2 separate regions of the Homo sapiens genome follow, and region 2 is linked to region 1. Evidence: promoter capture Hi-C in 16 types of primary human blood cells and fetal thymus (Javierre and others, 2016). All regions are on one chromosome and are shown on one strand. Each heading gives the region's core, a stretch centred on a gene start or on the middle of the fragment in contact. The rest is flanking DNA. Distances are from core to core; before and after follow the strand shown. Region 1 holds the start of CA5A (carbonic anhydrase 5A). Region 2 overlaps KLHDC4 (kelch domain containing 4).

Evidence for each region. The method cuts DNA at HindIII sites, captures the fragments that hold promoters and counts their contacts. A CHiCAGO score of 5 or more calls a contact.
Region 2: a contact is called between a fragment that was not itself captured here and the fragment with the promoter of CA5A in region 1, in 3 of 17 cell types (naive CD8 T cells, activated CD4 T cells and naive CD4 T cells). The highest score is 7.0, in naive CD8 T cells.

The regions. Positions count from the first base shown.
Region 1 is chr16:87,933,549-87,939,509 of GRCh38, forward strand. CA5A (carbonic anhydrase 5A) reads right to left here and starts at 2,981. Exons shown (of 7, transcript NM_001739.2): 1 at 2,761-2,981. The coding sequence starts at 2,902. The HindIII fragment of the contact is 28,449 bases long and covers 1-5,961 here.
Region 2 is chr16:87,759,245-87,764,955 of GRCh38, forward strand. It overlaps KLHDC4 (kelch domain containing 4), which reads right to left. Exons shown (of 12, transcript NM_017566.4): 2 at 2,705-2,796. Among named protein-coding and RNA genes, the nearest start is that of KLHDC4, 3.9 kb to the right of the region's middle. RefSeq lists an enhancer at 3,128-3,197. The HindIII fragment of the contact is 1,947 bases long and covers 2,536-4,482 here.

The DNA.
Region 1 (5,961 bases), core at 1,731-4,230:
AATTTTTTTTTTTTTTTAGAGATGGGTTCTTGCTATGTTGCCCAGGCTGATCTTGAACTCCTGTGCTTGAGCTGTCCTCCCACATCAGCCTCCCAAAACAGTGCTGGGATTACAGGTGTGAGCCCCCATGCCTGGTTCTAAAATTATCACTGAGCGTTTTGTAACTCTTTGACTTTTCTCTCAAGGCCAAACCACCAGTGATTTTTCAATAATTTTTAGTAACAATATTCTTTTTCCAAGTGAAATAATCTTCAGAATGCCCATAAATAAAACACCGACATAGAAGGATGAATTCCTTATGATGTTCCAATCTTCTCTGCTTGGCAGAATATTCTGCTCTTTGTGGAACTCTGAAATGATTTGGCAGAGCCCTCTGTTCACTGGGAACAGGTTGAGGACCATGGTGTAAATGGATTTAGGTGCCGATACAGAATATGACTCTCTCTAGCACACGATGTAAGAGGACATGTTGCCACAGTAAGAAATGGAATGCTACCTGCTGCCCACTGACAGGGAAATGCTTAAATAGACACAGGGCACCCACCGCTGCCTGTGTTAGCAACAGCAGCAGCTGGCGTCTAGCAAGGGCTTCCTGGAGCCATGTGCTGTCCCCAGCCTTTGCAGGCCCCACCTCGGACCCTTCTCCCAACGACACTGTGCCGTAAGCACCATTATCAACCCCCTGTTACAGACGACAAAACCAAGGCTGGGGGAAGTTAAGAAAGTCACAGAGGGGACAGCTGGGCGTGGTGGCTCACGCCTGCAATCCCAGCACTTTGGGAGGCTGAGGCGGGCAGATCACCTGAGGCTGGGAGTTCAAGACCACCCTGAGCAACATGGAGAATCCCTGTATCTACTAAAAATACAAAATTAGCCGGATGTGGTGGCGCATGCCTGTAATTCCAGCTACTCGGGAGGCTGAGGCAGGAGAATTGCTTGAACCTGGGAGGTGGGGGTTGCGGTGAGCTGGAGATCGCACCACTGCGCTCCAGCCTGGGCAACAAGACAGAAATTAGTCTCAAAAAATAAAGGAAAGTCACAGAGGGGCAACAGCCATAGAGCAGTGGGGCCAAGATTCCAATCTAGGCAGGCTAGCGCTCTTGACGGTCGTACTAAGAATAAAAAAGGGGGGTGGGTGCAGTGGCTCACGCCTGTAATCCCAGCACTTTAGGAGGCCGAGGCAGGTAGACCACCTGAGGTCGGGAGTTTGAGACCAGCCTGGCCAACATGGCGAAATCCTATCTCTACTAAAAATACAGAAATTAGTTGGGCGTGGTGGCACACGCCTGTAGTCCCAGCTACTTGGGAGGCTGAGTCAAGAGGATCGCTTGAACCCAGGAGGCAGAGGCTGCAGTGAGCCGAGATCGCACCACTGCACTCCAGTCCACAGGTGTGGACCCCAACAGGAGGAATGAGTGTAGCTCACTCAGAGTCTGGGGTGGGCCAGGCTTTCTACACGCATCGTGTCATCCTTCCATGGCCCTGGAGAGAAAGTCTGGCCACCCCCATCTCGAGATAAGGACACAGAGGCTTGGGGGTGAAGACCTGCCGAGGCTCCACCTCAGCAAGCGTCAGTCGGACTGCATGCCTGGGGTCTGGCTCCTAAGCCCATGCTCTTTCAATGGCCCAAACATGGAATGCATGGAAGATTTCAGTTAGAAGAGAACTTGGCAGCTGCCAAAGCAGGCTCTCATTCTACGGAGGAAGCACCTGAGACCCAGAAAGAGGAAGGGCCTCGTTCAAGGTCACAAGGCACTGACCATGAAGCCAGGAGGGGCTGGCACGGGGCAGTTTCTTGGCAGAGCTGGCTGAGTGGTTTATTTGTTACAGGTTTGCTTGAAAGCGTTCTCTGCCGAAGAGTTTAGGAGCGATCGTGACTGGTTAGTGCAGCCCATTCCGCCGGGTCTGGATGGTGAGTCGTGCCAGTGTGTCCCGTGCGAACACGGACTACCCGCCTGCTCCCAGCATCTTGCCCTCCCCAGGACCCCTGAAACGGAGGCTAAATGATTCACCCAAGGTCACCAAATACAAGAGAAACGGAGTGTGGCCAGGCGCGGTGGCTCACGCCTGTAATCCTAGCACTTTGGGAGGCCAAGGTGGGTGGATCACCTGAGGTCAGGAGTTCGAGACCAGCCTGGCCAACATGGTGAAACCCCATCTCTACCAAAATACAAAAAATTAGCTGGGTGCAGTGGCGGGTGCCTGTAGTCCCAGTTACTTTGGAGGCTGAGGCAGGAGAATCACTTGAACCTGGAGGGCAGAGGTTGCAGTGAGCCGAGATCATGCCATTGCACTCTAGCCTGGGCAAAAGAGCAAAACTTCATCAAAAAAAGAAAAAAGAGGGCCGGGCGCCGTGGCTGATGCCTGCAATCCCAGCACTTTGGGAGGCTGAGACAGGCGGATCGCGAGGTTAGGAGTTCGAGACCAACCTGGCTAACACAGTGAAACCCTGTCTCTACTAAAAATACGAAAAATTAGCCAGGAGTGGTGGCATGCACCTATAGTCCCAGCTACTCAGGAAGCTGAGGCAGGAGAATCGCTTGAACCCGGGAAGTGGAGGTTGTGGTGAGCTGAGATCACGCCACTGTACTCCAGCCTGGGCCACAGAGCGAGACGCCATCTTAAAAAAAAAAAAAAAAAAACGGAGTGGAAATCTGAACCCATCTGGCTCGGGACGGTCTCTCCTCTCTCCTCTCGAAAGACCCCATCAGCTAAGACAAGGATCCAGTCGCATCTTAGGAAATTTGAGGCTCTACTTACAAGTGTTATTGCTGGTTTGCCATGCACAGGAACGCTGAGAACACCATCGCCCTGGCCTCATCGAACGACTCCAGAGAGGGGCCCACATCTGCTCAACCAAGAAGGAGAAAGCTGAGGTCTTCCAAGTGTTCCTCCCCAACATCTTGGGTCTGTTCCCACTGACTCCAGTCTGAAGAGGGTGATGTTCCCTGCTGTCTGTTCTCACTTTGATCAGGACCACTGTGGACTGGCGTGTACCCACCTCTTTTTGTAGAAACTCATCCCAACCCCTGAGCCTAATGGTTAAAGTTCAACCCATGCCTTTCCCAACAGGGTGGGTCCACAGGGATTAGTGGCCTCTGCTGGGGACAGGCCACTCAGGTCACTGGGCTTTGATCTGGCAAACAGGAGCACAAGTCTGCCAGGGAGCTAGAAAAACTGTACGGTGGGGCTGCGTGAGCACCAGGGGATTACGCGGGAGGCGGGGGCGAGTGGATGAGAGCAGAGTCCCTGTTTCTTTCATGGGGTTGACCGTGTGGTTTGGGGCTCCGGGACACTCAATACCAGGCACAAAGCCATGGTGTGCATGTGAGGAGGGACTGGCAGGCAGGCTCAGAAGTACAGGAATGGGACTGGCCAAAGCGCTGCTGGGTAGACAGGCCAGGGGAGCAGGGAGCTTCTGTCCACCCACCAGGGCTCCTGAAGTCATGGAGTCCTTGCTTGCCTTAAAATAGGTGCGATTTGATTCATTCATCCTCCCCGGAAGCAAGATGCCCTGTGGCTTCGGACACTTCCAGGTCATGCCTGCTGTCTTGGCATAAACATTAACAGGGCCACCTTTCTTTCTTTCCTTTTCTTTTTTTTTTTAGACAGAGTTTCACTTCTGTTGCCCAGGCTAGAGTGCAATGGCGTGATCTCGGCTCACTGCTACCTCTGCCTCCCAGGTTCAAGCAATTCTCCTGCCTCAGCCTCCTGAGTAGCTGGGATTACAGGCGCCCACCACCATGCCCAGCTAATTTTTTGTATTTTTAGTAGAGATGGGGTTTCACCACGTTGGCCAGGCTGGTGTTGAACTCCTGACCTCAGGTGATCTGCCTGCCTCGGCCTCCCAAAGTGCTGGGATTACAAGTGTGAGCCACTACGCCCAGCCTCTTTTCTTCGTTTCTTTTCTTTTCTTTCTTTCTTTTTTTGAGATGGAGTCTCGCTCTGTTGCCCAGGCTGGAGTGCAATGGCGTGATCCTGCCTCACTGCAACCTTTGCCTCCCAGGTTTAAGCAATTCTCCTGTCTCAGCCTCCTGAGTAGCTGGGATTATAGGCACACACCACCACAACGGCCAATTTTTTGTATTTTTAGTAGAGACGGGGTTTCACTGTGTTCCCCAAGCTGGTCTCGAACTCCTGAGCTCAGGCAATCCACCCACCTCGGCCTCCTAAAGTGCTAGGATTACAGGCATGAGCCACTGCGTCCAGCCTCTTTTCTTTTCTTTCTTTCTTTCTTTCTTTCTTTCTTTCTTTTTTTTTTTTTTTTTGAGGTGAGGTCTTGCTCTGTCACCCAAGGTGGAGTGCGGTGGTGCCATCATGGCTCACTGCAGTCTCAATCACCCAGGCTCAAGTGATCCTCCCTCCTCAGCCTCCCAAGTAGCTGGGACTATAGGTGCATGCCATTATGTCCAGCTAATTTTAAAAATTATTTGTAGAGGCAGGTTCTCGCCATGTTGCCCAGGCTGGTCTTGAACTCCTGGGCTCAAGCAATCCTCCCAGAGTGGCCTCCCAAAGTGCTCGGATTACAGGCATGAGCCACTGCCCCTGGCCTGGTACCTCCCTTCATGCCCAGGGTCCACATGGGTATGTTAGCTGGTCACTCTAGCCAGGCAGCTGGTGATATTTGCAGACGCCAACCCACAAAGAACCTTCCTTTGGGTCCTTTGAGCGGCACAGCAGTTTATTCACCCAGACACCTTTTACCTGTGAAATGGAACCCATGGGATTGGGATGCACCAGTTTGTGACTTCTTGTTGTTGTTTAAACTTACAATCTTTTAGGGGGCAGGGCTATCATAACTTTTCATAGAATCCTGGAATCTTAGATCTAGAAAACCCTACAGAACACAGGTGTTGAAATGCGAGTCCACTTGTAGGCTCCTGAAAGCCCAAGAATCCCACTGAAATCCCCCACACAATGGATAGGGTCTGCGGCTTTCGGCCACTGCTCTGGTGGGCCCAAGAGTTTGCTTGCATTTGTTTTGAGCAACAAAAACCAAGTCTGGATGATATGTTCTCTCCTTCCCACACAGTCATGGTGGAAATGCACCCACTCTTGGGAAGTCTGATTCATTGTCATTCATTCATTGACCCACTCACTCATTCATTGACTCACTCACTCACTCATTGACTCACTCACTCATTCACTCACTCACTCATTCATTCACTCACTCATTCATTCTCTCACTCAGTCAATCATTCATTCACTCATTCATTCATTCATTCACTCACTCATTCACTCACTTATTCATTCACTCACTCATTCACTCATTCACTCATTCATTCACTCATTCACTCATTCATTCATTCACTCATTAATTCATTGGCTTTTGCCTCCATTTCCTCATCTGTAAAGTAGGGAAGATTCTAGGATTCCATCATACACGATAACACTCTGTCGAGCTGTTGTTGACACAAGTGATGTCCTTAGAGCGGCACTTTCATTGCTGCAGGCCAAGCTCCCACCCCAGGCATTGCCAGCCCCATGTGAGCAGGGGCATCTCCTGAGTACACTCACCTGGGCAGCCGATGATGCCCCACAGGCTCCTGGGGCATGTCCTCTGCCATCCTCAGCCGTCCTGCCCTCTTCAGCCTGCCCAGTTTAGGTTGACTGCGTTGCAGCAGTACCCGTGGGCTGGGGGTCTCCCTGTCTTCCTCATCTCCCTGCTGCCCCATGGCAGGACTCTGCTTTACTTACAAAATATCACCAGCCCCAGTGTATTAATCAGGGTTCTCCAGAGAGACAGAACCAATGGGATAGACAAACAGATAGATAGATTAGAGAAAGAGAGAGAGAAAGAGATGATAGATAGATAGATAGATGATAGATTAGAGAGAGATGATAGCTAGATAGGTAGACAGATGACAGACAATAGATAGGTAGATAGATAGGTAGATAGATGGTAGATAATGGATAGATGAAGAAAGATGATTGGTAGGTAGATAGATGGTAGGTAGATGA
Region 2 (5,711 bases), core at 2,259-4,758, 170 kb before region 1:
ACTTTTTAGGTCGGGTGCAGTGGCTCACACCTGTAATCACAGCATTTTGGGAGGCCAAGGCAGTTGGATCATCTGAGGTCAGGAATTTGAGGCCAGCCTGACTCCAGAGGTTGCAGTGAGCTGAGATCGCGCCATAGCACTCCAGCCTGGGCAACAAAAGCAAAACTCCGTCTCAGAAAAGAAAAAAAGAAAAAAAAAAACTTTTTAAAAATAATAAATAGGCCGGGTACAGTGGCTCACGCCTGTAATCCCAGCACTTTGGGAGGCCGAGGTGGGTGGATCACCTAAGGTCGGGAGTTCAAGACCAGCCTGACCAACACGGAGAAACTCCGTCTCTACTAAAAATACAAAATTAGCCGGGCGTGGTGGTGCATGCCTATTGTCCCAGCTACTCCGGAGGCTGAGGCAGGAGAATCACTTGAACCTAGGAGGCTACAGTGAGCCGAGATCGTGCCATTGCACTCCAGCCTGGGCAACAAGAGCTACACTCCGTCTCAGAAAAAAAAATAAAGAGTGTTTCCCAAATTCCTCTGACCCTGAATCTTTTCTCACTGAATACCTATTGATTTTCTGCAGAAAAGCACCAAACACAACTTCAGAAACGATCTACACGGGGCCCAAACTGAGGTCCCCACCCAGCCACCAGCGGCACCAGCCCAGGTGTTGCCGCCGCACAGGCAGGTGAGGTACTGAGGCAGCTGGTGTCATGCCCCCATTTTCCAGGTAGGTCACATCAGAGCCAATCCTGACGATATGCTCATTTAGAAACTGGTCATTCTCACAAGGTTTTAAAGTAATATGATTAAGAAATAGGAAGTTGGAAGATATTAAGGTTACCAAGCAAAAGATCTTAATCTCAGGATAACTGCTCCCTCCTATTAGGAAGCATTTCCAGCTGACCCAGGGAACTGCCAACACCTTAAATTATATCCTGACATGAAATCTGACTTTCAGGCAACATTACTTATGGAAAAATTCTAAAATATCATTAAAAAAAAAAAAAAAGAAAAAGGCCAGGTACGGTGACTTGAGCCCAGGAACTCGAGACCAGCCTGGACAACATAAAAAAAAGTCTCTACAGGGCCGGGCACGGTGGCTCACGCCTGTAATCCTAGCACTCTGGGAGGCTGAGGCGGGCGGATCACGAGGTCAGAAGATCAAGACCATCCTGGCCAACATGGTGAAACCCCGTCTCTACTAAAAACACAAAAAATTAGCCAGGCTTGGTGGCGGGTGCCTGTAGTCCCAGCTACTTGGCAGGCTGAGGCAGGAGAATGGCGTGAACCCGGGAGGCAGAGCTTGCAGTGAACCAAGATGGCGCCACTGTACTCCAGCCTGGGTGACAGAGTGAGACTCCGTCCCAAAAAAAAAAAAAAAAAAAAGTCTCTACAAAAAAAATAAAACTAATCCCCATTCAAAGTGGCTTTCCTCAGGAGTGCTATATATCAGAAGCCTAAGATCAAGGATTTATTTGCTCCAATAACTCAAATGAAAATGTACATTTACAGCCAGGCACAGCGACTCACGCCTGTAATCCCAGCACTTTGGGAGGCCAAGGCAGGTGGATTACCTAAGGTCAGGAGTTCACGACCAGCCAGGCCAACATGGCAAAACCCCATCTCTACTAAAAATACAAAAATTAGCTGGGTATGGTGGCTGGCGCCTGTAATCCCAGCTACTTGGAAGGCTGAGGCAGGAGAATCACTTGAACCTGGGAGGCAGAGGTTGTAGTGAGCCAAGATCATGCCACTGTACTCCAGCCTGGATGACAGAGTGAGACTCCATCTCAAAAAGAAAAAAAAAAGTACATTTACCACATGTAACTTACATTTGGCCCTGAGGGCAACATGCAAACTAAAGGGAAAAAGAAAACTAAAATCCTAATGGACATGAAGTGAAAACCAGGAAGGACACTGGCCTTTGGGAGTGGCTCCAACACCACTCACTCTGCTCAGGGGCTGATCACCGTGCTCCTCCCACCTCTGGGCAGGTGATGATAACCCTGCCTCTGAGGCCGGTGGGTGGGACTCGGGCACCAGAGCCATCACATGCGCCTCATTAATGCAAACGCAGCACAATCGTGACCCTCCACTCCCGATGGGCTGAACCCCGGCTTCCACTAGGGCCTGCAGCAGCTTTATTAAAAGGGTAAATCCTGCAAGGTTAATCTCCTACTGAGGGAAATAAACCATTTCTCATTCCAGCTCATCCCACACGTGTATGAAATCCTACAGACTCGGAACGTTTTTACGTAATTTTCAAATCCATTTAAAATGGCTTATACTCAATTTATGTTTAACAAACTTTTCACATGAGAATTTGAAAGCATTACAAACACATCAAAAGGCCACAGTGATTTTCAGCTTTCTGCCTACAGTACGCACTTTTAAAATACCTTAAGAACCAAAGAAAAGCTCACTGGGGCAAAACTTTCATCCCCACGTCACGACCAGTGGAGGAGCTTTCAAAGTTGGCACCGGAGCCCAGAGGCAGCAGCTGTGCTGTAGGCCCTGCTCCCAGGTTCCATGACAGTAAAGCTTACAGCCTCATTCCAGTTCTTCAGCAGAAAGTGACCAAGAACAGGTTTTAATAATGAAAATGTCCCAAGTGCCTGGTCATTTACGAAACCTGGTGCTATTTAAAGCAGTTTTTCAATGTATAGAAGAAAAGGAAACATACAATATGAAAAATGCTACTTGCTCACCTTGGTGAGGGTGGGGGGCACGGAAGTTCCACAGTCTGAGTCCTCTTGGCATCGAGTGTCTGGAAATGGGCTATGAGCGCTTCCAGGTCTTCCTAGGGCAAGCAAGCAGGCACACGTGAGACTTATTCCCAGGACCCGCCGCGGAGCCACAGCCCGCTCAGCTTTCCTCCAATCAGTGTGATTCGACTGGGCTCAGTCACATCTGTGAATTGCAACATACTGTGCCTGTTTGAAATGCAGAGTTTGACACATTCGAAAGTAACCAGAGCTTGACCTCAAAGGCAGTCTGCTTAAAGGGTAGATGTGTGCACCAAGTATTATCTCCACACCCTTAACGCTCCCTCTGCAAGACCTTCCACTTAGACAAGCCCGTTGTGACTTCACTGCAGACACTCTCAGCACCTCTCATAACCCAGACTCGAGCCGTCGCACCTGCCAGCCTTCCTGTCTGCAGAGCAGTGTCTGACAAGAACTTCCACTTAGACAAGCCCATCGTGACTTCACTGCAGACACCCTCAGCACCTCTCAGAGCCCAGGCCTGGGCCGTCACGCCTGCCTGCCTTCCTGTCTGCTGAGCAGTGTCTGATATATTTCTCTTGCTTATTTGTTTCCTCCACCCCAACAAAATAATAAAATATGAGCTCCACCAGAGCAAGACTTGTGTCTAGTTAAAACACTGCCTGCACAGCAAGAGCTCAGCAAATACCAGCTGCAGTCTATCCAAGTAAGAAGGTCTCAACTTTTACTACCATCGAGAGTGACTCAAGGTACTGATGTGCCAGCACAGAGGGCAGCACTGGAACCCAGTGTTCCCGCCTCAGTCCCAGTGCCCATTTCCCAACATTTACGAGACACTCCCATGCACACCCGAGCCTGGCATTTCAAGTTCCTTCTAGCCTTCAGTGTCCTGCTTGCAACTACACACACCTGCAGACCATCTTCCCTCCCCCACACCCACCTCTCCAACCTCACCTCCCACCTGGCCTCACTCTCCAAGATACACCAGCGTCCTCTCCGTTCCTTCAATGAAAACGCCAGGTTCCCTCAGCCTGCCACGCCCCACCTCGTGCTTCCTTCAGTCTACCTCTCATCTCAGGGTGAATGTCAGCAGGGTACACTGCTTAGTATTCTAAACGATGCAATATTTAAAACACACAAGTTAACAGAACTTTATCCAAGACATTCCTGTATACGGTTCCCAGGGTAAGGAATAAAGTGTCACCCACATGTACCCACCCACACATTCCCTCAAGTAACCACTATCTGGAACTCGATGCTTATTAGTCTCACGCTTTTCTTCAATCTTTTATTACACATGTGTATCCCTAAGCAACATATAGTATTGTTTTACATTTTTAAATGTCATTAAATGGACTGGGCACAGTGGCTCACGCCTGTAATCCCCGAACTTTGGGAGGCCGAGGCAGGTGGATAATTTGAGGTCAGGAGTTCGAGACCAGCCTGACCAACACGGTGAAACCCCGTCTCTACTAAAAAATACAAAAATTAGCCGGCCACAGTGGCGCACACCTGTAGTCCCAAACTACTCGGGAGGCTGAGGCAGGAGAATTGCTTGAGCCTGGGAGGCAGAGGTTGCAATGAGCTGAGATCATGCCACTGCGACACTTGCTCTGGGTGACAGAGCAGGACTCCATCTCAAAAAAAATAAAAAATAAAATGTCATTAAATGGTATCATACTGTATATTCTTTCAACTTGCTTTTTTTGCTCAACGAGGTTAAACAAACAGTTCAAATACTAACGTCTATGTACCGCGAAAGCTTTGCTGCTGCTACTTAGAGCGGTCTTTGACCTTGGCTGAACCTCATCATCATTGGGTGACTGAAGGAGAGCAAGGTGGTAGGGTCTGGGTGACGCCAGTGGCCTAGCCAGTGACAGCCTCTCCAAAGTGACAATAAGCTGAATGCTGAAAAGACGACTCAGACGGAGTATGGTTGGGGTATAGGTAAGACCACAGACACAACTTGCCATGTTTGAGACACTAAAAGACACTGTGGCTGGAGTGAGCCCAGGGAGACAGCTGGAAAGACAGGCAGAGGCCAGGACTAAGTGAAGGTGCGAACCAGGTGACCTGATACATGAGTTCTGTGGGAGCAGAATTCCAAACTGTCCCCAATCCTTCCCCCAATAATTGCCAGGACTGTGAAAGAATGGGATACCACTCTTGTGATTAGGTTGTATTACAGACACAGCTGAATTTAAGAAAGAGATGATCCTCTGTGGGTCTAGCCTAATCAGACGCCCACTTATTTTAAAAGTTTGTTTTGAGGGTTCATTCAGATAACATACAAACCCCAGGCCTGACAGGCTCTCTCTCTTAAGGGAAGCTACTGTTACAATCACCTTAGTATTGGGTACTGGAGGGAGACATGGAGATGAGTAAAAATGACAGGTAACTGGCGGGGCAAGGTGGCTTACGGCTTGTAATCCCAGCACTTTGGGAGGCCGAGGCGAGCGCATCACCTGAGGTCAGGAGTCCCAGACCAGCCTGACCAAAACGGTGAAACCCGGTCTCTATTAAAAATACAAAATTAGCTGGGTGTGGTGGTGCATGCCTGTAATCTCAGCTACTTGGGAGGCTGAGGCAGGAGAACCACTTGAACCTGGGAGGCGGAGGTGCAGTGAGCTGAGATCGCACCATTGCACTCCACCCTGGGCAACAAGAGTGAAACTCCTTCAAAAAAAAAAAAAAAAAAAAAAAAAAAAAGCAGAAAGCAGCTAACAGCTGGTTACTGAGTGCTTACTTTCTGCCAAGCACCATTCTGAAGATACCACACAGATGAACTGACTTCCTGTGCCACAACCCTAGCCAGCAGGTCATGCCACTGCAGCCCAGCCTAGGTGACAGAGCAAGACTCTGTCAAAAAAAAAAAAAAAAAAAAGAAAGAGCCTAAGAGGAGTGTGAGGGAAAAGTCCAACTCCATTATTTAAGAGATGAGGACATGGAGAGATCAATGACTTAGGAAGAAAAGGGACAAAGGACTGTG